Regions from separate parts of the Homo sapiens genome. Here all the other regions are linked to region 4. The links are contacts of gene promoters, found by promoter capture Hi-C in blood cells and fetal thymus (Javierre and others, 2016). All regions are on one chromosome and are shown on one strand. The core of a region is centred on a gene start or on the middle of the fragment in contact, and the rest is flanking DNA. Distances in the headings are between cores, read along the strand shown.

Region 1 (6,327 bases), core at 1,953-4,452, 68 kb after region 4:
GTTCCTGATAAGACATAATTCAAAAGAACAATCAGCTTCACCCTATTACATTATTAGCGAAGTCAAAAATGGTCCCAAGAAAAGCAACCTTGTAAGTGGGCCACAGATATTTTTTCTAGGCCACCTCCAAAGCTTTTGGTCCATCTCGACAAATGAAAGTGACAGAGTATAAGGCATGAATTACACTTTAATGAATAAAGGGCAAAACGAACTAGTTTCAAAGCCCTCTTGTGCAACTGGAAAAAAAAGACCATTTTATTACCATGACATTTGTGATTGCTTTTAACCTGTGAACAACTCCTTTCACATTAACTTCTCTGTTAAAACAGAGATGAAAGACTGGATTAATTAACGGATCCCCAGTACAGTCTTATCAGTGAAGGCATTGGTCAGAAGCAGGCTGCAAAGGACAGGGTGGGAAAGGGTGGGCTATTGAGGGGCCCATATGGCACAGGCCAAGTGTCATGTGTCTCCTGGGCAATGACTTAGATAAAAACTGAAGTCATTCTCAGTTGGGCCTGCCATTATTCAGACTAAAATCCTGGCTTATAAAAGGAAACAAACACCCTGCTTCTCATCATGTTTACAGCATTCATATCTCCAGTTTGAAAGCCAGTAACAGAAACTGAAAAAGAAATCCATGATATAGGAAGATAAAGAAAAATTCACCATTAATCTTCATTGTTCCTTTCAAGTCAAAACATTCCCTTTAGAAATAAGCATGAATGCAAATAGCCAAGGAGCATGCCTGCAAAGCTTGCTGCAAATGTAAGCCACGTTGGAGATGATATGAACATTACGGGAAATAAAATTTTGCTTGGGAAGGTGGCAATGACATTTCAGCTGCAGCTTCTCATTTGGGACTGTGATGAGTCAGTTCTCCAGCACAGTGTTGGGTGATGAGGGGAGAGAACAGATGAACAAAATCAAAACGAAAGGAATGTAGGTAGGCAGGCAGCTGGTCAGGAAAGTTTTTTCTTCCCTCATTTTTATGTTTAGGGTAACTAGAATGCACTCTTTTAGGTGACCAATGTTTGTCTCACCAAGATGGTCTTAAACTTTTTGGTCCATATGATATGGAATTTAGAAATCAAACCCTAATTTGGCCGGGCGCGGTGGCTCACGAGGTCAAGAGATCGAGACTATCTTGGCTAACAACGGTGAAACCCCATCTCTACTAAAAATACAAAAGAATAGCCAGGTGTGGTGGCGGGCACCTGTAGTCCCAGCTACTCGGGAGGCTGAGGCAGGAGAATGGCATGAACCCAGGAGGCGGAGCTTGCAGTGAGCCGAGATCGTGCCACTGCACTCCAGCCTGGGCTACAGAGCAAGACTCTGTCTCAAAAAAAAATAAAAAATAAAAAAATCATACCCTAATTTTACCACTTCAGTTTAAAGTACTTTGATTTATATTATTATGCCGTGAAAAGAGAATACATAACACTGGCTATGATCATTAGCAAGAAATACATACAAGAGTACTTAAATTAGGAGGAATACTTACTATAGGAGTATCTTTAGTATCAAGGCAATACCTTCTTGCCTTGTTGTTAAGTTACGTCTAGTCAAAACTACTAACCACCCTATAACTCTGGAGTAATAATGTATTAACAAAGAGCGAGGTTTTGGTTCAGTTAAGCACCACGATAATGTCAGTTAAGCACTGACACTATGCTGGCCATTCCTAGTCTTCTTGTCCTGATCAAATGGATGTGTAATTGATGACCATGGCAGGAAAGGCAGAAGAAATGCACCAGGCACTTGCTGAAACATAGCTTTAAGCACTGGCCAAGGCTAAGTACCTGGAATAGAAAGGCATGCCCACTGGCCAGCAGCAGACAGGAGTGAGGGAGGCACTAGGCGGCTGGGGAAGGGGCGCAGGTGCTAATGGCCTGTATAACCAGCTGCTATAGAGGTGGCCACACGGGAGAATTTGCAGGGTCTTTCTGCGCCACATACTTAACCACACAAGTAGTTAACACGGAAGCACCGCTTCAAAGAGAATGACAAATGACAGAAAATTGGTGACCTAATTTTAAGAGTAAGAAAACTGTTCAAAATTGAGAGAAATACCATAAAAGCCTACTAGACATACATTGACCATACCACAAATAAATGATGTAACTTTAACTGTGAGCAATAACTACAGGGAAAAGCTGGTAAAATATGATCATACTATAACAATATGACTATTAGGACAGTCACCAGGGCAATACAGTAATTTAGTTCTGCTCCCATATGAATATTATAAAAATGGTTTATGTTAATTGGTATACAAAACAATATTTTAAATATGTGCAGAAAAAATAAATTATTCTCATAAAAATACATTTACCACAATTCAATATTGGCCTTATTAACAGAGCTTAAATTCTTTTATGGTTTCCTTTATGATCCATACATTCCCAATCACCGCTATGTTTTTGAGGGAGAAGTATATCTAAAATTACAAAATGAATGCAAAGGTTGCACAGAACTTGCTTAGAATCATAAACAACCATATTAATGCTAGAACACAAACACAATTTCTGGTGTTGATGTTCTGTGCTGAGCTGAAATAGTGGCCCCTTACACAGAACCATCAATCTGAAACCCAAGAATCTGGATGTGGAAATATCAAAGTTCTCAAAGCAATCCTTTGATTATTATATGCTACAAGGTACAGATTGTATAATAATGATGAAACAATAAATATAACCATTAATTCAAAGACATTTTCCATTTCAAAATATGAGTATTTAGAGTATTATAAAATATATAATTTTAATGTTTAGGCTTCTTTTAAGTTTCAGAAGACAATTTCTTTTTGATTTCTTTTCCCCTGATAGTTTTGCCTCCAAACTGAATCATGCTCAAGGTTCAAAAATGTTAAATGCCATCACCTAAAACACTTCTACTTAGAAAGTAAGCTTCATTACTGAGATGAATGAGTTCGTATTCAAATATTAGTAAAAATCAACACTTTGAAATACCAGTCCCCTAAGGTTATATTATGTAGGTACAATAGGAAAATAAATAAGTAAATGGTTGTGCAATAAAAACCACTTACATTCCATAGCTGAGTGACAGAAAATCTCTATACCTACATTATAGATAGGTAACTGAACACTGACATACGGAAAACCCTCAGACCAGTCTACAATGTCTTGTGATCCACAATTCTTTGAAGCTAAGTCTGCATTAATATATTATTTCCACACAACCAGGTTTCAATTTCTTTTTGACTTGGTTATAAAAGTGTCATCTGAAGAAGTACTGTTAACATATATTACAATATGAATGCAAGTATTCCTATACTAAGAAAAAGATCTGACTAAAATGCACAGGAAGTTATTAAAAGTATGTAGTTAAAACCCTTTTTAAAATCCCAGTAAATTCTGGGATTTAAAAAATTCTGTTTTTCTTCTTTTTCACTGATTGCTGCTCTTACCTTTAATACTGCCTTTCCTTAAGTACTTGGTTTAATTGATTCTTCTTTTTCTAGTTTCTTAAGATGGAAGCTTAGCTCTTTGACTTAAGACCTTTTTTCTCCCTTTCTAAATATAAGCATTTAATGATATAAATTTCCTGATAAGTACTACTTTAGCCACATTCTATGAATTTTGATATGTTTTATTTTTCTTTTCAATCAGTTCAAAATATTTTCTAATGTATCTTGTGATTTCTTCTTCAACCCATGAGTTATTTAGCAGTATGTTATTTAATTTATAAGTATGTGGGAAATTTTTCAGATATCTGTTAGTGATTTCAAATTTAATTCTGTTGTGGTTGGAGGATATGCTTTGTATGACTTTAACCCTTCTACATTTATTGATACAGTCATGTGTCACTTAATGATAGGGACACTCTCTGAGAAATGCTTCATTAGGTGAACATTATAGAGTGTACTTACACAAAATCTACATGGTAAAACCTATTATGTACTAGACCTAATGGTCTAGCCTATAGATCCTAGGCTACAAACCTGTACAGCATGTTACTGTACTGAATATGTAACATTAACACCATGGTATTTGTGTATCTAAATGTATCTAAACATAGAAAAGACAGGGTAAAAATAAGGTATTATACTCTTATGGGACCACTGTCATAACTGTGGTCAGTTGTTGACTGAAACAGTTATATGACACATGGTTATATTTGTCTTATGGTCCAGAATATTATGTATCTTGGTGAATCTTCCAGTTCACTTGAAAAGTATGTGTATCCTGCTGTTGTTGAGTGGAGTACTCTATAAATATCAGTTAGGTCAAATTGGTTGATACTGTTCTTCAAGTCTTCTATACTCTTACTAATTTTCTGTATATTCTGTCTATTTCACCCTCACCTCAGTTGCTGCTTTATGTATTTTGCACCTGTTATTAGGTACATATAAATTTTAAACTGTTATATCTTCTTGATTAATTTTACATTCTTCATTCCCAATAATATTCCTTGTTCAAAAATTGTGTTTAAAAAAGTACAGTCACTCCAATTTTCTTTGAATTATTGTCTACATATACATATTATTTGCTAGATATAGAATTCTAGGTTAATGTTTCTTTTCCTTCAGTTCTTTGAAGATGTCGCTCCACTGTCTTGCATAATTTCTGATGAGAATTTTGCTTTTTCTTTCACTTCTCTCTGTGCCCTTTATATTTAATGTGGGTTTCCTGTACACAGCATATCACTGGATCTTGCTTTTTTGTCCAACCTGACAATCTCTGCCTTTTAATGGTGTGTTTGAGTCATTTTCATTTAATGTAACTATCAACCTGTTTTCTATGCATTCCATTTGTCCTTTATTCCTTTTTTTATGTTTTATACTCTGAATTAACTGCATATTTCTTATGACTCCATTTATCTCCACTGTTAGTTTAACTATGTCAATTTTAGTTTTATTCTAAGGTCTAGAACATACACATCTTTTTTTTTTTTTTTTGACAGGGTCTCACTCTGTCACCCAGGTTGGAGTGCAGTGGCACAATCATAGCTCACTGCAGCCTCACACTCCTGGACTCAAGTGATCCTCTCACCTCAGCCTCTTACGCAGTGGGAACCACAGGCATGTGCCACCACACCCAGCTAATTTTGTCTCTTTCTCTTTTCTTTTCTAAATAGAGATGGAGTCTTGCCACGTGCCTCAGGCTAGTCTCAAACCCCAGGGCTCAAACTGTCCTCCTGCCTCAGCCTTCCAGAGTGCTGGAATTACAGGCGTGAGCCACCATGCCCAGTCTACAATATACACCTTTAACTTACAGTCTACCTCCAAATAGTATACCACTTTATGTAATGCCCAAGAATCCTATACATGAATATACTTCCACTTCCCCCATCCTCTACTCTACATTACTGTTGTCATACATTTTGCTTGTATAAACTACATAATATATTACCATTTTTGCCTTAAAGAGTCAACTATCTTTTAAAGATACTAAGTCAGGAAAAATATCTTTTAAAGTTACCCATGCTTACTATTACTTCTAGTGTTCTTTATTCCTTTGTGTAGTTCTAAATTTCCACCTGGTATCATTTTCTTTCTTAAAAAGTTACTGTAATATTCTTGTAGTACCAGTCTCCTAGGGATGAATTCACTCAGCTTTTGTTTGTTTAAAAAAATAAATATTTTCTCTTCATCTCTGAAAGATATATTTGCTAAATATAGGATTCAAGGTTAATAGATTTCTTTTCCTTCAGTCCTTTGAAGATGTCACTCCATTGTCTTGCATAGTTTTTGATGAGAATTTTGCTGCCATTCTTTATTCATTTTTATGTAATGTGCATCCCCCCAACTGCTTTTAAAAAAAACTTTGTAAGATGTGTGAGTACCAGTGAAAAAGGAAAATAATTTGTTTCCTCAAAGTTGACATATCTGTCCTAACTAAAATAATCCTCGAAGATATTAACAGAGAAGATAGTAGTATAAAAATAATTTATATTCTTTTAAACAAATGTGCATTGTATTCTTGAGTGTGAGTATGCACATTTAAGATTCTATAAAACCACAAAACTATAAACACATTATGAAGCTGAAATGTGAAAATAAAACTTAAGAGAAACCAAACGTATGTATAATTTCTAGATCTGAGAGACATCCTCTGTACATTACGTGTGGGATGAACAACCTCAATTCTTAGGCTGAGGCAAAGTATGGATTCTCCTTGACTTATGATGGGGTTACATGTCAATAAACCCACCATAAGTTGAAAATATCATAAGTTGAGAGTGGGGTTTCTACTTTTGATATTTTCAATTTATGATGAATTTATCCAGATGTAATCCAATCCTAAATCCAGGACTGTACTGAATGAATATTGCTTTCAGACCATCATAAGGTCAAAAATCATA
Region 2 (7,016 bases), core at 2,981-5,480, 120 kb after region 4:
CTCTGAACTACTCTCTTTTACTTGGGAAGTTACCTAGGAACAGCACCACAGCACAGACTGTCAAAGATTTCTCCACTTTCTTTATCTGAAAGGCATATTGTGCTTTGTGGGATTAGAAGAAGAGAAAGAAGACAGAAAATCTTTGAGAAAGGTGGGAATGGATGTGCCCATTCTACATAAGAAGAGCCATAAAGGGGGAGATTCCAAATCTAAGGTCAAAGAAAGACTCTTTCCTTGAAGTTCACTGCTTGCAGACTGTCATTTATTCAACAAATAGTTAACAAAACATCCAGGTACTTTACTGTCAAGTATTAGGTGGTTCACAATAGAGTTCCTATCGCTTGGTAACCCCAGTGGTAAAAAGATAAAACAGGTCAATACAAATACACAAAGTGCTAAATTTAAAAAAGTCTATCTTGCCGGGTGCGGTGGCTCACGCCTGTAATAACAGCACTTTGGGAGGCTGAGGCGGGCGGATCACCTGAGGTCGGGAGTTTGAGACCAGCCTAACCAACATGGAGAAACCTGTCTCTACTAAAAATACAAAATTAGCTGGGCGTGGTAGCGCATGCCTGTAATCCTAGCTACTCCGGAGGCTGAGGCAGGAGAATTGCTTGAATCTGGGAGGTGGAGGTTGTGGTGAGCCAAGATTGCACCATTGCACTCCAGCCTGGGCAACAAGAGTGAAACTCCATCTCAAAAAAAAAAAAAAAAGTCCGTCTTCAGATTGATCTATTTTAATAACTATATACATATAGAATCTTGCTCTTATGTAGAAAGATTCTGTAAAGTGATTCACAAAACCAAGTGAATCCAGTATCTCCCTCATACCATAAAACCAAGAAACTCACTGCCTAGTAAAACAGAGCACAACAATTAGGCTTACATAAGATCTCAGAGCTACTGCTTATGTCCAAGTACAAAAGCATCCTTGCAGTCTTCTCCTGTAGTCTTGAAATATGGTTTGGCCAAGGGAAGGCAAATGTGGGTCCTATATGTTTAAGAGAAAACCTTAGGCTTTGGCATCAGACAGTTGTAAGTTTAAATCCTGGATCTGCCACTTCCTAGCTGGGTGACTTTGGGGAAATCATTCGTCAGATTCTGCATCTAAAAAATAGGAATAACATCACCCTACCCCAGATGGCTGTGAGGATTACATGAAGATATTTAAGTCAAAGCTAAATATATATAGTAGGCTCGAGTGGTAGTTCCCTTTCTCCTTCTCTGTTAGCTTAGGCCCCTGCAGAGAATGACAGAATGAGTTACCAACACTAAAGTAAAACAGCAAAAATATTCAATAGATATGCATGGAAGATGGCTAAATAAATAACTGGCAACACTGGCTGTACAGGAACATCTCTGCACTGATTTACTTTACAGTTAACAAAAGGCAAGGAGGAGCTCTTTGTGAAATTTTCTCCTGGATGTCTCTGAATAAGTTTGTATTTGCCACTTGGTTAAATAGAGTGGGAAGACAACAGAGTGCAAATCGGGTAGGAGGAGCAAGCAAAGAAGGTCTTTCCACTGTGTCCTGGGAATGAGGCCTCTGAATTCAAAGGAGAAAGCTGAGAGATTTACATATATTGAAAGCGGGACATATTAAGTGGACCTAGTGACAGCTACTGAACCCTAGACTACAGAGCATTGATTTGTAAAAACTGTTGAGGCTAAATCATTTCCCTTTGACTTTTATAAGATAATTTTCTTTTCATCTTTTCCTTTTATTATCTGACTCTGCCCTTGCTTAATAGCTGTTTATTCCTTGGTGAACATACTTGAAGCTGCATAGGCCCAACTCTCACCTAGGTAGAGTTCAGCAAGATGAAAATTCATTTTCTCCAGAGTGTTACTATAGTAAACAAATAGAAAAGAAAGGCTTTTAACTGCTACTGTTGTACATAATGCCACTTTCTAGAAAGAATATCTTTCTCCAGTGATTCCAGGTTTCGGGTTTCCTATTTTAAAAAGCTGTTTAATGCTGTGCCCAGATGCATTCAGATGCATTTCAAGATATACAATTCTAACATCTTTTTAAAAATAAACAAAATCCTTAATATACCATCTTTTCTATTTTTCAGCAAATAAATCATATCGACAAAAAATTCAGTCTAGAAGAAAAAATGATGACAAAATATATACAGAATAGCTTTCGGAATTTTACTTTACTTTATGCAAAACCAAGAATTAATTCTAATTTGAGGCCAAAGTGATTTGAAAGGATCTCTTCAAAGGAAAGCTCCAAGCTAACAGATGTTTTGTGTTAACAAACAGAAAACAAAACATATACAACACACTCGTCTAAGCTTACAATAAAATGTTAGAAGTATTTCCAGCAACCAACATACAAAAACAGTTTTATTTATCATAAATATATATTTGTCTGTTGTTTACCAGAGTCAAAAAAGCTAATCTAATGGTGAAATATAAATATACATTCATTCAATCATAAGATACTCTTGGAAGAAAATTTAAAACAGAAATAAAATATGATGATGCATTCGATTAAGTACTACAAAATAAATTTAGATGAATTCTATGAACTAAGGAAGGCTATGGAAGAGAGAGCATAGTTATATACAACATTAAAATGATATCCCATCCAAAACTTTGTCAGGCTATGACTTTTGTCTATCTTGCTATACAATTTTGGATTATGGAGAAAAGTATTAAATTATGTCAACACATAATGATATTTCCTTGGCCAAATAAATCATTTTCAGTGAAGAAGAAATCCAATTTGCCTAACTAAACTTCCAAAGAAGCCATCTTCTGAACAGTGGAACTCACATAGCTCTGGAAGGTAGAACTGATATAGAAGGATTAACTCGAAGTCCGTTTAAAAAGCAGTTAGATATTCCTCCTGCCCTCCCTAATCCTGTCCCTATTGTTATCCCTTCACCACCATGGCAGAAGACTTAAGTTCTGTTTTCTAGGCAGGATAAAACAGGGAGATAGTGAACTGAGGGAATACAAGCAGAGGTATCATCTTGAAAACTAAGTGAAAGTTTTAAATACCCAAAATTTAAATACTAAAGAAACTGATACCTCCATTTCTCTTCACCATGAGGCTATCGGAAGGCTTGTACCTTTCCTGATAGGAGACTGAAAGATTCTACTCTTGGAAATCTGATCAACTCAACAAAAAAAGACTTAAGAGTAGAGACCATCATCCTATAATTGTCAGGCTTCCTCCAAGCTCTCAGAACTACTAGCCAGCCTTTTAGGGTCCCATATGCTTCAATATGAGCAGTCAGCCAAGGGCCACCTGACATCTGAGGAAAACTCCCCTCATGAAAGACAAAGACTATGATAAACAAACAGAATCAAAGCAAGTTAGAGGAAACAAAATCATGCATGGGAATGAAAATATGCTCAAAAAACCCAAAATAAGATGTTTCCTGTTCCTATTCTTGAATAGAATTTAACCAAAAAACATTAGAATCCTGTAAAAAAAAGGAATATAGAATATATAGAAAAATAAGTAGAAAAAGGAATATAGCATAAATGAAAGTTTTTTTAAAAAAGTTGAGAAAATTTTAAAGAACAAAAAGACAAAAAGATAAAAAAAAGGAGAGAAAATAATTAAGATAGAGAATCAATCCAGAAAGTCTAACTTCTTTTTTTTTTTTTTTTTTTTTAGACGTAGTCTCGCTCTGTCGCCCAGGCTGGGGTGCAGTGGTGCAATCTCAGCTCACTGCAAGCTCCGCCTCCCAGGTTCACGCCATTCTCCTGCCTCAGCCTCCCGAGTAGCTGGGAGCTACAGGCACCCGCCACCATGCCTGCCTAATTTTTTTGTATTTTTTTAGTAGAGACGGGGTTTCACCATGTTAACCAGGATGGTCTCGATCTCCTGACCTCGTGATCCACCCACCTCGGTCTCCCAAAGTGCTGGGATTACAGGCGTGAGCCACCGAGCCCGGCCTGAAAGTCTAACATTTATAGAAAGAGAGAAGAGACAAAATGGAAGGGAAAGGAATCAAAGCGATAACTCAAAAAATTTTATTATAATGGAAGAACACACATTTACACAATGGATGAAAACAGACCTACACCAAGAACTGGTGCTCACAAAATAGTCCAGTAATTGCAAATAAATCCTCAGACTGGCAAAATTTAACAAGCCTAACAATACTAAGTACCAGCAAGGATACAGAGCAGTTAATATAACCAGTACCTGCAATATTGTTTAACAAAGGGGTTTTGTATTATTTACTAAAGTTGAATATATACATACCCTACAACATATAAATCCTACTCCTAGGTAATATCCTAGACAATGTGTGTGATTATATGTACCAGCATATATATACATCTGGCAGCAACATCCATAAATGGCCAAACCCACATTAAGTATCCAGTAAAACAGAAAAAATTACGGGACACATACTGTGATAATTAATATTATGCATTTGAGGGATCCTATCACATGATTTTTCCCTCTTGAAAATTGTTAATGGTTCACTATTGCCTATGAGTCCTTAAGAATCGGTTATTAGTTTTACTTACTTTAAAGCACCAGAGACTGGCATAGTACTTGGCATATATCATGCCTCCTAAGTAAGTGGAATAGAATTAGTAAAGACTTCATAAATAGTTTCCCCTAAGTTAGCTAGCTATATGTAACAATAAAAAGAATTTTTGAAAATACACAGAAATTAGCCGGGCGCGGTGGCTCATGCCTGTAATCCCAGCACTTTGGGAGGCCAAGGTGGGCGGATCACGAGGTCAGGAGATCAAGACCATCCTGGCTAACATGGTGAAACCCCATCTCTACTAAAAAAAAAAAAAATCAGCCAGGCGCCCGTAGTCCCAGCTACTCAGGAGGACGAGACAGGAGAATCGCTTGAACCCGGGAGGCAGAGGTTGCAGTGAGTCAAGATCACGCCACTGCACTCCAGCTTGGGCGACAGAGCGAGACTCGGTCTCAAAAAAAAGAAAAAAAAATATATATATATAGAGAGAGAGAAATTACATATAACTGCCAAAATATAATCAGGTTACCGTAGTTTTGCTGGACATAATTTAAAAAGTGATAATTACCATGATAGAGTGTTTGCCATTTACAGAGCCATAATGGTCTTAGTGTGATGACCTATATAATATGAAGCTGCTTTTTCTATTGACATTTGGGAGTAAATAAGTGATATACAATTTTTCTTTTTTTTCTGAGACAGAGTCTCCCTGACCTCAGGCTGGAGTGCAGTGGCATAATCTTGGCTCACTGCAACCTCCACCTCCCTGATTCAAGTAATCCCGAGTAGCTGGGATTACAGACGTGCACCACCAAGCCCAGCTAATATTTAGTAGAGTTGGGGTTTTGCCATGTTGGCCAGGCTGGTCTTGAACTCCTGGCTTCGTGTGACCTGCCTGCCTCAGCCTCCAAAAGTGCTGGGATTACATTCGTGAGCCTGGCCTACAAACAACTTTTCTAATTTAGTGAGCCAATTATAGTAACTTGTGCTACCTACTATGTTTCATTTTACTACTAAACCACAGGACCAATACTAAATACTGTGTCCCACTACTACATAAATTTATATTTGTACTTACAGAAAAGTATTTTACATGCATTCCAATCATTTAAAAACTAGAGTAGGCCTAGAAATAATCAACATGTTTGAATAATAGACTTGGCATATTCAAGAGTTGGTGATCAGTCCCATTAAAAGCTAATTGAAATCTTATTATAAATGAGGTTACTACTATGTCAGGATAAAAAGTCACACCATGACAGAAGTCTACAAAAGCACAGAGTAAAACATGAGTGTGAGTGCTTATAGAGTTCTATACATGTATAAGTGTGAGTGTGTGTATAAACACAAACCCACAAATTCATATGCAGGTTTTTCAGATCCCTATTTAATTCTGTTAAACAATACAATGCTTTTATTTAATCATTTCCATATAAATTACACCATCCTAAGTATCATATGTGGAATACAATTTAACATTTTTCTTGGTGACTCAAGTTTATTAACATATTAGTGTTTGAATACAGAAATATCCCAAAGACTATTGTAGTGTATTGAGTTGCCTTTCTCTTACCTAAATTGACCCCAATTATTAAACTTCTAGTTCTTAGATCTAGTTTTATATTTCTAAATCCTCCTTGCAGGTTATTAACTGTGTTCTCCTTCCAATTCGCTTTTTATCCACTGTAAGCTTGGAAACAAGACAAAAGGATTTATTAAGTTTTATATAAAACTGTCTTAAATAGACTCTGATTGGGATTATTGAGCACTCTTTTGCAATAAAGGCATGGGTTTTGTGATGGGTATTTAGGCATTTCCCATTTATTTCCAGCTTCAGGACCATGTTTTGGAGGTCTGATGCTGCCAACAGTCTGGTTTCCATATGGGCAGGATGCTACTATAAATGAGCAGACACAGGCCTAAATTTGGTCAAGTACATGCCTTAGGTTTAGGACTTAGTGTTCATTAACAATCAGCAAAGTATCACATTTTTCTCAGAAAAAAATGTCTTACTAAAAAAATCAGTTTATTAATGTATAATTTACATAGAATAAACTGCTTCCATTGCAAGTGCACAATTCAATGAGTTTTGGCATATATTATTATCATGGTCAAGATGCAGAACATTTCCAATACCTCCAATGGCTTCCTCATGCCCTTTTGCAGTTTGGCGTTGTCCTATTTAACCACTTAATCTGTTTTCTGTTACTTCTGTTACTATAATTTTCTATTTTATATAAATGGAATTACATAACATGTATTCTTTTGTGCTTGGATAGCTAAGTTTTTAAGATAAAAAATTACATTAAGCTGATGGCGATTCTTCTTATCAGACTTTAAATACAACTAGACTAGGATTTCTGACTATGGAAAAGCAATAAACCATATTTGTATTTGCTACTTAGTTTCTGGGGTTAATTAGCTTTTTCTCTCTAATGAAGATATTAGGCATCAGATATAATCAACCTATTAGATGAAAAAAAGAATTATCAACATAACAATAGTTACCACTTGTTGATTTGTAATGGCTAATAAGCAAAAGGC
Region 3 (6,597 bases), core at 3,614-6,113, 100 kb after region 4:
TAATTCAGTTCTAAGCCTGACAATTGGTTTACAACATACAGAGAAGTAAGGTCAGCCTTGGTGATTAACCTCGGCATTAAAAAAAAACTTTTCCATTATTTTGATGGTGGGGGATAGGAGGTAAAGTGATATGTTGATCTCATTTAGATACATGCAGTTTTTTGTCAGATAATATATCAGGGCTTCAAACAGAGTTACTGAGTAGCATGCCTTTTTGTTTTTGTTAATTTTGCACTGGCTTTTCCTGATCTTTAAATAAAAACAAATCAATAAAACTACCTCCAAACCAATGAAATGAGAGCGTAGTCTCTTGAGCAACTAATTAAACTGTTTTTAGAAATAGCTAATTAAGCTTTCCATTAAAATCCACCAAATAGACATACATAATTTACAAGGTGGAAAGCCATTTCAATCTCATGGGTAAAACAATTAAACAAGTCTTAAATTTATAACAGAGACTGCAGATTGGTAATTCAGTGAGTAATTATATAATTAGGATGTATTTTATCTTTAAAAGAATATAATGTAAAAAAATAAATTTTTGGGTGCTAGACATATGGCCAAAGTGTAAAAACTTCATAAAACCCACAAATTCATTTAATGAAACTACTGAAATGCTCAAAGTATATATGTACAATACTAAGTGCTCATAAATAGTTTTCACTCAGCATACATTTTATTGAGTATCTATTATATGCTAGGCACTAATGAAACTGTAGCTTCATACCAGAGACTAGGGTGGTATACTATTTTACAAGGACCAAATATTAAATACATATTTAATAAATAAATTGTAATTGAGATAAGTGCTGCATGAATAATGTATTTTTGCACCGTATTTTTGTCCCATAATCACATTTTCTAACAAAAGTTGAATTTGTCCGTGAAATCTATGACCATGCCCTCCTTCCAAACTGCTCCCTCCCCTCATGGGCTTTCTGACACTCTCACAGATGACTTCTACACCTCTCTCCATCCCAGATTTCTCGCTCTTTCCAATATGGATGTGCTTTTAAAGCCCTCTGAAGTCCAAACCACAGGGTAGTTTGTGACCATCTCATACGGTCCTTTTATCAGAAATAATACAGACAGGGAGCTGCAGTTTATAAACTCTCCTCCTCAATCTGCCTAATCCCTCCTTCCATAAAGCATTTAAAAAATTAAATTGTTTTAAATTTAAAAATTTAAAATTTTTAAAATTCAGTGTTAAGTGGTTAAAAGCTTGGCTCTTGAGTAAAAACTAGCTGTAAAAGAATCTTAGCTCCATTTACTAGTTATGGGATCTTAGATAAGTCTCAGTTTATTTGTAAAACTGGAATGAAGATAGTACCTATACTTCATGGGGACTGGAAGGATGAGATAATATAGGTAGAATGTATGGAATATACATAAGGCATATATTTTTAGTACCCAGCATGCAGAGAGCTCTCAAAACTCTCAAAGACTATGTGGTGATGCTGATATTGATACTGTTATCATCATTAGCATCAGTCTTATAGCTTAACACAAGGCTTGGGACAAAGTAGATGCTAAATAAATGTTAAAAGAATGAGCAAAATTCATGGCACATTCGTAAGCCTCTCTGAATTCTTCAGACTCATAGACGAGTGCCTGTCTGAATGATTTCAGTCTCCTGCCCTTATACTGTCAGAATAGATTTAATACAAAGAAATGTATAAATGTTTTGTCTTTTATCTAGGTTATTCAAAAAGTAATGGCAGGTCAGAGGTGCTAACAAGAATAGCATTTTAAATATTGTTTCTTCATTTGGCAGTCAAAATGTATGCAGAATATGAACTAAAAACATGTTAGAGAGAAAATTTTGATAACATAGGTATCTTAGCAACATAGCTGACTAAAGGAGACATTGAATTGAAAACAATTGTTGTGCTGAGAGAACATGTGCCACCTGAAATAAGAAGGATGTTTAGGATTCATGAACTGTAGTTTTCTATTCCACAGGTTGTTGAATCACTGTGGTTTAAACTAATCTGCAGGACCAAAACAACTATTACTGGAGGAATAATGTAAAGTGCCATGAACATTTTTGGATAAATAAAAACCCTCTGCAATAAATTCCAAGAAAATATTAGAAGGAAAAGGGAATTTAGGCAGTATCTATCATTAGTAAGCCTAAAGTCTGATCACTTTTCCTCCTATGAACTCAAACCCATAACTTGCTATAAAATTACAAAATTATTTTCATTATTTTAAAATGCATGTCTTACTAATAGAGACATGAAAATAAGAAGTATATTGTTTTAAAAAAAACTTGCCTAAAATATCTCCTCCTGCAGGATCAGCTGTAGAAAGGTTCTTAAAGGGTATGCCTTTGTTGTTTTCACTGCCAAAATATCAAACCATGTCCTCAGTTGAATAATGTTTCTTTGTTGGTTTCATTTTTCAGGGTTTTTGAGATACTAGGTATAGAATTTAATACATTACGTTATACCAACGATACTTTTTTTTTTTTTTTGAGACGGAGTCTTGCTCTGTCGCCAGGCTGGAGTACAGTGGCGCAATCTTGGCTCACTGCAACCTCCGCCTCCCGGGTTCAAGCAATTCTCCTGCCTCAGCTTCCCGAGTAGCTGGGACTGCAGGCACACGCCACCACACCCAGCTAATTTTTGTATTTTTAGTAGAGATGGGGTTTTACCATGTTGGTCAGGATGGTCTCAATCTCCTAACCTCGTGATCCACCTGCCTCGGCCTCCCAAAGTGCTGGGATTACTGGCGTGAGCCACTGCGCCTGGCCATGATACTGTTTTTAATGAACAATAGCATATTAAATTAGTTACTGTAGGCTTTTTGTTTGTTTTCATTGTCTCTTCTCCTGTAGCTTACATTAAATTTAGAGTTTTACACTTCCACATTTGAAAACCTCTCCAAAAGAGAAAGTTAGGTTCACATCACAAGATATGAAAGGTATTTCTGGGTTCCCTTTAGAGATGGTTGTCTTGAGGAAAAGTATTCTTTGTTTTAGTAGTAAGCTGAGCTAGCACTCTTCCCCACAGAAGTACCATTTTTTTACATGAAAGAATGAGTAAAACAAATTTTGGTTGTTCAGCCTTGGGTGTTTGGCATTTTCTATAAAATGAATGAAGTGCTCTGGCTACCTCAAGGAAACAACTGACAGTCAATGATAAAATTAAAACTTTCAGGTAAAATTAGAATTTTGGAAAATTTGTATCTGCCACCCTAAACTTGACAGCTTCCTACTACTTCAATGAGTTATCTGGTAAGATCAATGATGATACTAACAAATGTGACTTTTTGATATTGTATAAAATATGTCAACATTTGGAAGACCTACGTAACTCAGTGAACCAATATTTTACAAGTGATCAATGCATGATGTTTCAAAATCATGCACAGTTGAAAGATCCATTTGAAGTTCAATAGACCAATGGGTTTCAGTGTAACAGAGTAAAAAATGGCTATTAATAAGGTTTCAGACTCCACATTGCAAGTAACCTTTAAGAAATTACTACTTGTCCAGTTTGGTATCACCACAGACTGAACACAGAAGCATTTATGAGAACCCAGTTTCATTTCCTTAAAATTAAGCCATACATTTAAGAGATTCACAGAAATGTAAAACACTGCTACTCTTCTAAATTTTTTTGTTTCAAAAATTGGTTATTTAATAATATTGTTAACATGTAATTTTTATTGTTTCTTAAAGATATTTTATAAAATATATTTTAATTTCCAATATAGTAAATATCAACAGATATAACCCACATAAACAAAAGCTCTTCAAAGTCTGCAGTAATTTTTAAAGTGTAAAGGGGTCCTGACTCCAAAAAGCTTCAGAACCGCATATCTAATCTATCAGTTGTAACTTTTACTGAGCAACAGAATCACACATGTGATATAGATGTGTAGATAGAAAGATAAATACATTAATACAGATGTTTAGGCTCCATGTTGATTATACTGAATCAAAATTTCTGCAGATATCTCAATTTTATAGAAAGCTTCATTGGTGAGAACACTGATCGTCAGCACTTTAATAAAAAATTATTTATCACTGCATGTTTCAGAACTTCCCCCAAATTTAAAGTTTTATTCTACTTATTTTATTTCTCATAAGTACTAGCATTAGTAAGACCATCTTTAATTTTTTTCTTATAGTTATGAAATGCTAATCTTTCAGTGTTACTGATTTCTCTTCTTCTGAGAGATAACATAGAAAATGATAAACTGACAAACTGTGTTAAAGACCTGAGAGGGTTTCTGTTTGTTTGCTTCTGTTTTCTTTTTCTTTTTTTTAACTTCTAAATAATAATAAACTCTCTACAGTAAGTGTTACATATAGACTCTAGAGTATTGATTTGGAAAGCACTTCAACTATCTTAAAAATCTTGTTTATTTGGGAGGTGACTGTCAACTCAGAGGTCTTTTGTCAGTTTCAAAGAGCTAGGGATGCTTCAACTTTGACAATGAAATGCTAATAAGCACTTTGAAGACTGAAATGATGAAAACCTAAAACTGTCAAACTGAGTTTAAGTCAACTGTTGAAGACGTAAATGTATGCTGATTTATCTAAAATATAATAAATGCAATATGCCTTATATTATAAATCTTAGTTATCAGATTTCATTAATATGCAAATAAATTAGGTTAATCATTTAATATGGCTCAATTATTTAAAAATTTACCTGTATCTCATTCTACTAAGTATACTGCTATTTAAAATTCACATGTTCTGGCTGGGCACAGTGGCTCATGCTTGTAATCCCAGCACTTTGGGAGGCTGAGGCGGGCAGACTGCTTGAGCCCAGAAGTTCGAGACCAGCCTGGGCACTATGGCAAAACCCCATCGCTACAAAAAAATTAGCTAGGCATGGTGGTGCATGCCTGTAGTACCAGTACTTCAGAGGCTCAGGTAGGAGGATTGCTTTAGTCCAGGAGTTATTGAGGCTACAGTGAGCCAAGGTCGCACTACTGTAGTCCAGCCTGGGTTGACAGATGGAGACCCTGTCTCTAAATAAATAAATAAAAATAAAATAAAATGCACTTGTTGAATTAGTGCAATCTTATGTGTAATTTACACAACCACTAAGTCTAAATCCTTTATTTATTTATTGTTGTTGTTCCTATGAAAGGAACAAGATTATTTGAATTTGTACATCTGTGTGATACTTCATGAAGAGAGGACAGCATTTGACATAAGCAACTAAGAGAGAACTAAGCTACACTTTAAGAAAGGATATTTTATTTTTCTACATTAAAAATTCGATATCATAGGTTTTCTTATTCAATGAATTGGAATCTTCGTTCCTTCAGCATTTGGTAAGAGTTTATTTAAAAAACGGAACATAAGAGTTGCAATTCTAGAGTGACATTCTTTAATGGCCCATCTGAACCATGCTTCAACTTCCTTTGGGCAGCTCTAGAGGTACTACTCCCTTTTGGTAAACTAACTACTTAAAAGATAGTGATCTACTTAGTCTTTATTCAGTCCAACATTAAGTCTCTACAATGATACTAAGGGGCATTGTGTGGAAGGGTCTGGCTGTCCTCTATGATGTCACTCCCAAAAATAGAGGATGCACTATTAAGACAGCCCCCTAGAATATCTTGATAATTCACCATAAACCTATCACCCCCAAAGATCTCCATGTTAATACCTATCCCTAAAAGACTGCATTAAAGATTAAAGGAGATAACCTGGTGAAGTACTTCGCACAGCTTCTGAAACACCATGCTCAATAAATGTTAGTTATTTCTGTTATAATTCTAAGCTTTACAATCCTTAGAAATGTATAGTAGGGAGCTAGAACAGACTTTCAATGTTCTAAGGCCAAAGGGAATGGTTTGATTGGCTCAAAGATTTATAATCCTAGTCAGTAGCAGATTTAAGTATTCACGTCTATACTTAAACCTGTATGTGTTCAGCCTATTCTACCTCTTGGAATAAGTTGTCAGAAGTACAGAATCTTTAATCGGAAAAACCTCTTAAAGGTTAACAAAAAGAACATATGGGTAGAAAATTATGGCAGCTAGAAGGGACCTTGTGGTCATCTATGAAGCTGAGTCCTTCATTTTACTATTGAGGCCCAGAGAGGTTATTAAGACATGCTCAAAGCAAAAATCATTAGCTAAAGTGACAGACTAGGATCCAGATCTCTTCTTCAAAGTAGATGCCCCATTAAAAAGTTGGTTATTTTTCTGTGTGTGAGGGAATTGCTGGATAAACAGGACATAACATGTGATAAAGCTGCTTTTGAAGTGTTTCTATTTAAAGAGTAAATGTGGATCTTTATGTAAAACAAATCTCAAAAAGTTAAGAAATTAAGGGAGGAAAAGAATAGCAGAAAAAGAACCAGATACTGTGGATCACTCCAAGCTATGACCAAACACTTAGCATATAGGACTATAGAAATTCTTTTAGGAATCTTAACACCAGATAAAACATTAAAGATCCATTACTGTTTAAGTACCTTTTTCTAAAGAAAAATAAATGAGCTTAAAAGTTTAAAATATTTTTGTATAAAATCAAAAGTGATGTAATATTAAAAACATTTATAATCAATGTCTGTATGATTTTTAAAAATAAAACACAGAAAAAACCCATCCCCTTGCAGTAAC
Region 4 (6,582 bases), core at 2,538-5,037:
TTAAAGTGGTTAAAATGGTAAATTTTATGAAATGGGTATTTTACCACGATTTTTTAAAATATCACTGCTGGCAGGTCCATGTCCCAGTTAAGTTGTTAAAATAGAGTGAAAACTGTGCTTTGTTGACCTGGGTTTGGGGCTCCTAGTTGGAACATAAGCGATTCCAAGGAATCTTTACTACATTTTCCTTCAGTATAGAGAGCAATATCATCTAATACTCTCAGAACCCACGGCCCCCTTTTCTATCTACACCCCTTTTCAATCTTCATCAGCCACAGATGAAGCAGGAGGGCAGACATTCTTACCTGAGATTCAGGGAGGTTGGACCACTTGTCCAAGGTCATGTGACCAGTAAGGGCAAAGCTCAGATTGGAATCCTGTCATTTTGTGCTGAGCTTCTGGGCTAATTCTTGGTACTAACAGTGTGTTGTGAGCTGTCCTGGAAACTCAGAACTGCAAGTGCCACTATTCCTATGAGAAAATGTGTTCCAAATCCCAAGTGTCTTATGAAGGATCTTTGTAATTCAAGCCTTCCGTGGGTTGGGGACTGTGTGTTCAGAGCTGGGAGAGGAAGTAGACACATGATACATTTGCCTTCATTCACGTAACCAGATCTCCCCTTTCCGCAGGTTATTGCTGAGGCTGCAGTGCAGTAGCTCAATTACAGCTCACTGCAGCCTTGACCTCCCAGGCTCAAGCAATCCTCCCACCTTAGCCTCCCCCAACCAAGCAGCTGGGACCACATCTCTATAAAAAATACAAAAATTACCTGGGTGCGCACCACCACACCCAGCTAATTTTTGTATTTTTTGTACAGATGGGGTTTTGCCACATTGTTCAGGCTGGTCTCAAACTCCTGAGCTCAAGCCATCCACCCACCTCATCCTCCCAAAGTGCTGGGATTACAGGCAAGAGCCACCTCACCCGGCTAGTTTCACACGTTTTCTGAACCCAAAATGTTCCAAGGGCACTCAGTGCCCAACCACGCAGAGATTTCACATGACATTTCCCTAAAGCCACCTGCATTTGAGGACTCTTGAAGGGAATATGTTGTTTGAATATTCCGTTTTTGCAACCACCCCATTGAGCCCCTGGGACTTGATAATCCTTCTGTCCTCTATGCATTTTCTATCCTGGGCCTCATCCATCCCATGGTGGAGTTGCAGACTGGAATGGATTACTGAGCACCTTGGCCATTGAATTTGAAGCTGTTGCTTTGGCCTTGCCTTGGGCTGCTTATTTTTAAATGACTGTTCACTCCAGTTTGACAGGAAGAACATATTAGAAAGCAGAGGGCAGAGCAGATGGTCAGCATTATGTAGCAGGAGAACTATGCAGACCAACCCTATGGCCCACTAAGAGGAAGGGGAGGATGACAGAAGCAGACATAATCAGCATTTCAGAGACAGTCACCTCCTCCTTTCCCACCCTAGCCAATAACAAGGTGCCTGTTCCTTCCATAAGGAATTTCTAAGGAAGGAGGGCTTCATTTCTTAGATTGGTTCACTGGTATTCTTTTCTTTTTTCCTCCCCAGCACAGGGTAGAGTGATAGAAAACTCACAGGGCTCAAAGTCAGAACTCTATGATTCTCTTCCCAACTCCCATATGGCCTGGAGAGTTGGATTAGTTCTTCATGGATTCAACGAATCACAGTAAATACTTTTGTAAAAAGGTAGGGTGTAAATAAACAAATATGCAAATAAAAAATTAAATAATGTCAAATTCCCCTTTTTAGCAAGATTATATTTGTAATCTTTATTCAGATGATGGTAACATTAATTTATTCATGAAATATTTGTTGAGCATTTACTGTAAGCAAAGCATTGTTTTGGGAGCTTCGAGATATTCAAAACTGAATCCTTCTTCCTACCCTCATGGAGATTGACATTTGTCATTTACGTAAATAACTGTGAACAAGTTGGAAAGTGATATGCCGTAAGAAAGACGGCAATGAAGTGCTTGAGATTCCAGAGGCAAAGAAAAGAAAAAGTTGAAATGAAAAGTGCTGTATAAATAGAACAGAGATCACGCTGTGTTAAGCTAACACAGGAAAAGAGTCCCTGATATAAATGACAATTTTGTCTACAAAGGACTGATTCTAAGAAGGGAAACTCAACCACAGTTTCAAAGTGTTCCTTTTGTACCACACTGGTTCCATTTGTATTTGTATGTAGGAAATAGCTCCCTGGGCTGGGCAAAAGAAATTTTGAACTGTTACTAGTCCCATGGATCATTATTATCTTAACCTGATTCTGTATCTCTTGCTACCTTTGGCTAGTTCAGGCTGTGTTTTCTGACTGTGCATGTAATAAACCAAGTCTCCAACTGACCACATTCCAAAATGTATAAATTAAGTGACCTTGGGCAGGTCAGCTTTAGTTTCCTTGTAATAAAAAATTGAGGATGTTGGACTGCCTGATCTAGCTCTAAATTTCTATAAAACACCCATGGAAATCAATGCCAGCAAACTCGAGATTTGACCTAAATACATATCACATACTTCTTTAATAGCTAATCATGCATTTTTGGTTAGCAATAACCAAAATCCTAAGAGATCTCTTAAGGATGTTTACATTAAAGCATATCATTTAAGAATTTTCCTGTGACTGTGGTTTTGCGTGCACGCATGTGTGTGCACGCGCGCGCACACACACACACACACACACACACACATCAGGCCAGCTTTGGCTGGACAGAGTCCAAATCCCACATGATATAATTTATCTGAGTTTAGGCTCTTTCACTCAACTCTGATATTGAAAAAAATTAATAATAAAGCTTTTTGCCTCTTGACCAGAAGGCCTGTGTTTTTCAGAGCAATATTGGAAATGAAAAATCACAGGATGTCAGCCACCTTGTTTCTCAGTTGGGATGATATCACCAGTAAACTTTTATGTGAAGCAATCAGCAAACATCTCCTGTTTCCCTCTAGCGGAAGTCTGGGATTCAGGATGGTGTTTCAGCTGCTGTGTTAGGACACATTCCAGAGTAGAATGCAGGTCAAATGCTGTGCAAGGTTTTATAGTTTCAATTCAAACCCAAACCTATATATAGTAACATCTTAAAAAAAAAAAGTAGGTAGGAATGTATTCATATGGAATTTTTTTTAACTTCAGAAATTTTGAAAAAATTAAAAAATATTTGTCTCTGTGGAGAGAGTTTAGTTATGATTATTAACTGGTTTCTATCTCCAGCACATGTAGCTGTCAATCAGTCCTCTTTATTATTAGAATTCTCCTGGAGCAGTAAAGGGACTTGTTAACTCCATTGTATGTGATTATAAGGCACTGTTCTAAGTATCCATAGTTGTTTAAATATGAACCCCCGGACACTACCATGATCCACAAGTGGTCCAGGTCCTACAAATGGTGCCGAGTGTTCAGAGGGATGAGTCGGCTGCCAGGCATGATGGAGGGAGAGACATGCGTGTCTATCTTGAAGTCTTTGACCAGGCAGTTTCTATTTTAATTAGATAAGGCAAACTAAAAATCTTTATCCAAAAACTCAATCAAGCTAACATCAGGAAGAAACTGACAGAGCAGCCCCTGGTTGGGGAGGCTCTGCCATTCTGTGGTCTCATCAAAGAAGCAAGACTTTGATTTGGGGGCCTCCAGCACTTTAGCCTCAAAGGAGAGCCCTCTCCCCACCCCTGACCCCAGCACTTACCTGAGCAAAGGCTAAAGAGCAGGAGGAGAGGCCAGGGCTCCATGGGCTACCGGAGCTTGTGTGGACCAGGGCAGAGTGGTGGCCTGTGCTTCTCACTGGCACTCTGGCTGGGTGCTTGTCTGCTGGAGGGTTTGGAAAGCGAGTCGGCTCACTAGAGCTATTGTTTTACACCACCTGTTTGTGGGAGCGACAGCTGGGCTGCCCTCAGCCCTGGAGCCCAGGGAGTTACTGGGACTGTACACCATTACAGATATGCCTCACTTTACACAATTGCTTACCCTTGACAAGCTGAGTATGAACTGCATTATATTTTAAATGCACCAGTAGTCAGATCTTAATGAAAAAAAAATGTATAGGAAGGAAGGAATTATTTTAAATGGTGAGCAAACTGCCTCTCTTTTGTGTAAACCAGAACCTCATCTCTGTGGGTTGACTTGATTAGGGTCATTTGGTCTGAGTAGATAGTCAGCTGTTTGTCCTAAACCACAAAAATCCACATTCTGCAAACATGGCTTCAGTTTCATTTCCTCTGCTTCAGTGTTAGGCTGAGGGTGCCGGGGGCTTTTCTGACTGCCTGGATTTCAGAAAAGTGTAGCTGGTGTTGAGTCTGCTGCTGGGAAGCCCCCACGTTGATTGGGTTTGGTTTTTAACAAAGACAGCTTCTTCCATAAAACTGGCTTTACTGGCCCCCAGAGTGGCTGTTCCAACCCCTGCCTCTGTATCAGGCAATACCTATCCCACACGAACCATTAGCTGGAGCAAATTGCCCACGTCCTATGCACTGTGATTCAAGCGAAGAGTAATTATTGGGAAAAAGTGTCCCACCGCATCAGCAGTCGTTCCGGGTTCCTGCCTCCTTCCATCCGTCCCTCTGCCTACTCTCACTCAGGGAAGCAAAGAGCAGAGTGGTTCAGCTTTTCAATTATCTTGCTTGAAAAACATCCTAAAAACCAGCAGTTAGTAATTTCTCAGTCTGAGAAGTATTGTTACCCTAGCTGTGCTTCTTTGCAGGGTGTGAGGTGAGTTCCCAGAAGGAGACAGTTACTTAAAGGTACCCTGCCTGTTCCTTCCAGGCCTCCTTCCCACATGGAACTAGGTGAGAAAGGTCCTCTCACCTCAAGCCCACAACAACATCCTGACAGATCCTCTCATTCCAGTGGATCCAAACAAATCATTAGAGAAGGGGCTTGGAGGGTAGAGGAGAGAGCTGCAAGCTCATACTATTTATATTTTTTGTTTAAACTGTGGGAGATCAGTTAACTGTTTGCTAAAAAAAAATTTGGTTCTCTCCCTTCCATGGAATAGCCCCGTGGCAGAAATACAACCCCCACCCTCTGACCAGCCCCTTCCATCTAAATGGAGCCATGGGACTGACCTCTGGCCAGTGGCATGAGTGGAAAAATGTTCTCAGACTCACAAACCTACCAGAGCTCAGCCCCGCCCTTCTAGTCTTCTGACCGGCTAGAATGGACATGGTCCCAAAGTTAACCTTAGAAACCATGTTCTGAAGGTGGTGTTGCTTTTGACATTCTGAATCCTTGAATGACTGCATGGAGGGGGACCCCCTATCCACCTGCTCACCACCCAGCACTATTTCAATGAAAACAAAACATGCATCGTGCTGAGCCATCAAAATCCTTGGGTTTATTTGTACAGCAGCTAGTGTTCCGTAATTAATAAAATATGTAATCCTTTGCACTAGTATCCTGAGGTTAAAAATAAATTCTAAAATATGTAGCACTGCAGCAGAAGGCAAGAAAATTGATACTGGAGGCTGAAAATATGAAGACCCATGTTATATGGTATCAAATCATTTCATAAACTGTTGTCCTCAATTACTTGGTGAACAATGTGTCTACTGAGCCTGTAGCTCCCAGAATAGAGGCTGGTAAACCCAAAGTTAGTGCACCATGGCTCTTTCTGGCTTTGTTTAGCAAGTCAGTACAAGGAAGAGCTGAGCTCAGGCAAAAATGTGCTGGTTCAAGAGCAGAAATGAAAAGAAATAGAATGAGTCCAGAAATGTGGAGTCTTCTGTTTTGAACTTCAAAAGAGTAAGTGAAAACATGGAATAAAGGCTTTGAGCAACCAAAGCCCGTTAAGACTTCTCTTTAAACAGGCAGTTTCATCACCACAGCAAAGATCACTTTAAGGGTGCTTTCTTCACAGCCAAATCTATTTTTTTTTTCAGATGGCTTCAAGATGGCTGCTATTAAGTTGAAGGAGAGAGGTATAGTGGTTAGGATGCAAAGAAATTAATCAGATTAAAGAATTGTGACCATGTGTGTATATAGGCACATGGGAATGATGGAAACAAATATTGCAGAAGCTTACTCAGTATTTGAAGGAATTATATTGCCAAAGAGTTCATTAACCCAGGCTACAAAAGTTTTGGTTGTTCAAGGCTTAAAGCAGTCCTTGAGTTCCCAAACACACACGGCCAGAAAGCAGGCTCCAAGATCTGCACAGTCTTCCAAAAAGGGTGCTTTCTCCATCCCCTCCTTCAATTGTGGCCGTGAGGGAAAGTGGGCAAGGAAGAACCTCCCCGGGGCATAGCCAGGAACCTCAAACAGCAACGGACAAGGGAGTTCCACCCACAGAGCAGAATCGGGTCGAATCGAGGAATCTGTTGAGACCTTCTCTGTGCCTACCCTGGCTTTCTGCTTACTGCCAATGCCTGCAACCCTGTAACCGAGGGATTTTTTTTTCTTTTTTTTTGGCCATGGGAACACATGAAACAAGCCTGAGATGCTAAAGTGTTACTGCCTCCAGAAACAGGCCTCAACCAATGTTGGAGGATAAATATCCCCGCCCCATCTCCCCTTGGACTGGGTAACCCCCAAGCGTGCCCTACACTCTATGTCTGTGGGAGTGAGTTCCTGTTGCCCATGATGGAAATGGCTCAATAACCCTCCCTT

The links. Contacts are between HindIII fragments. The CHiCAGO score rates a contact against its expected background, and 5 or more counts as called.
Region 1: a fragment that was not itself captured here is called in contact with the fragment with the promoter of CHRNA1 in region 4 in 2 of 17 cell types (naive CD8 T cells and total CD8 T cells); the score reaches 5.1 in naive CD8 T cells.
Region 2: a contact is called between a fragment that was not itself captured here and the fragment with the promoter of CHRNA1 in region 4, in 3 of 17 cell types (total CD8 T cells, naive CD8 T cells and naive CD4 T cells). The highest score is 6.3, in total CD8 T cells.
Region 3: a fragment that was not itself captured here is called in contact with the fragment with the promoter of CHRNA1 in region 4 in 2 of 17 cell types (total CD8 T cells and naive CD4 T cells); the score reaches 6.5 in total CD8 T cells.

Annotation. Positions count from the first base shown.
Region 1 is chr2:174,828,891-174,835,217 of GRCh38, forward strand. The region is part of intron 7 of CHN1 (chimerin 1); the gene reads right to left. Among named protein-coding and RNA genes, the nearest start is that of CHRNA1, 68 kb to the left of the region's middle. The HindIII fragment of the contact is 591 bases long and covers 2,908-3,498 here.
Region 2 is chr2:174,880,349-174,887,364 of GRCh38, forward strand. All of the region lies in intron 5 of CHN1 (chimerin 1), which reads right to left. Among named protein-coding and RNA genes, the nearest start is that of CHRNA1, 120 kb to the left of the region's middle. The HindIII fragment of the contact is 3,859 bases long and covers 2,302-6,160 here.
Region 3 is chr2:174,859,876-174,866,472 of GRCh38, forward strand. All of the region lies in intron 6 of CHN1 (chimerin 1), which reads right to left. Among named protein-coding and RNA genes, the nearest start is that of CHRNA1, 99 kb to the left of the region's middle. The HindIII fragment of the contact is 1,770 bases long and covers 3,979-5,748 here.
Region 4 is chr2:174,760,685-174,767,266 of GRCh38, forward strand. It overlaps CHRNA1 (cholinergic receptor nicotinic alpha 1 subunit), which reads right to left and starts at 3,788. Exons shown (of 9, transcript NM_000079.4): 1 at 3,668-3,788. The coding sequence starts at 3,710. RefSeq lists a silencer at 1,197-1,491 and an enhancer at 3,789-4,288. The HindIII fragment of the contact is 3,214 bases long and covers 2,778-5,991 here.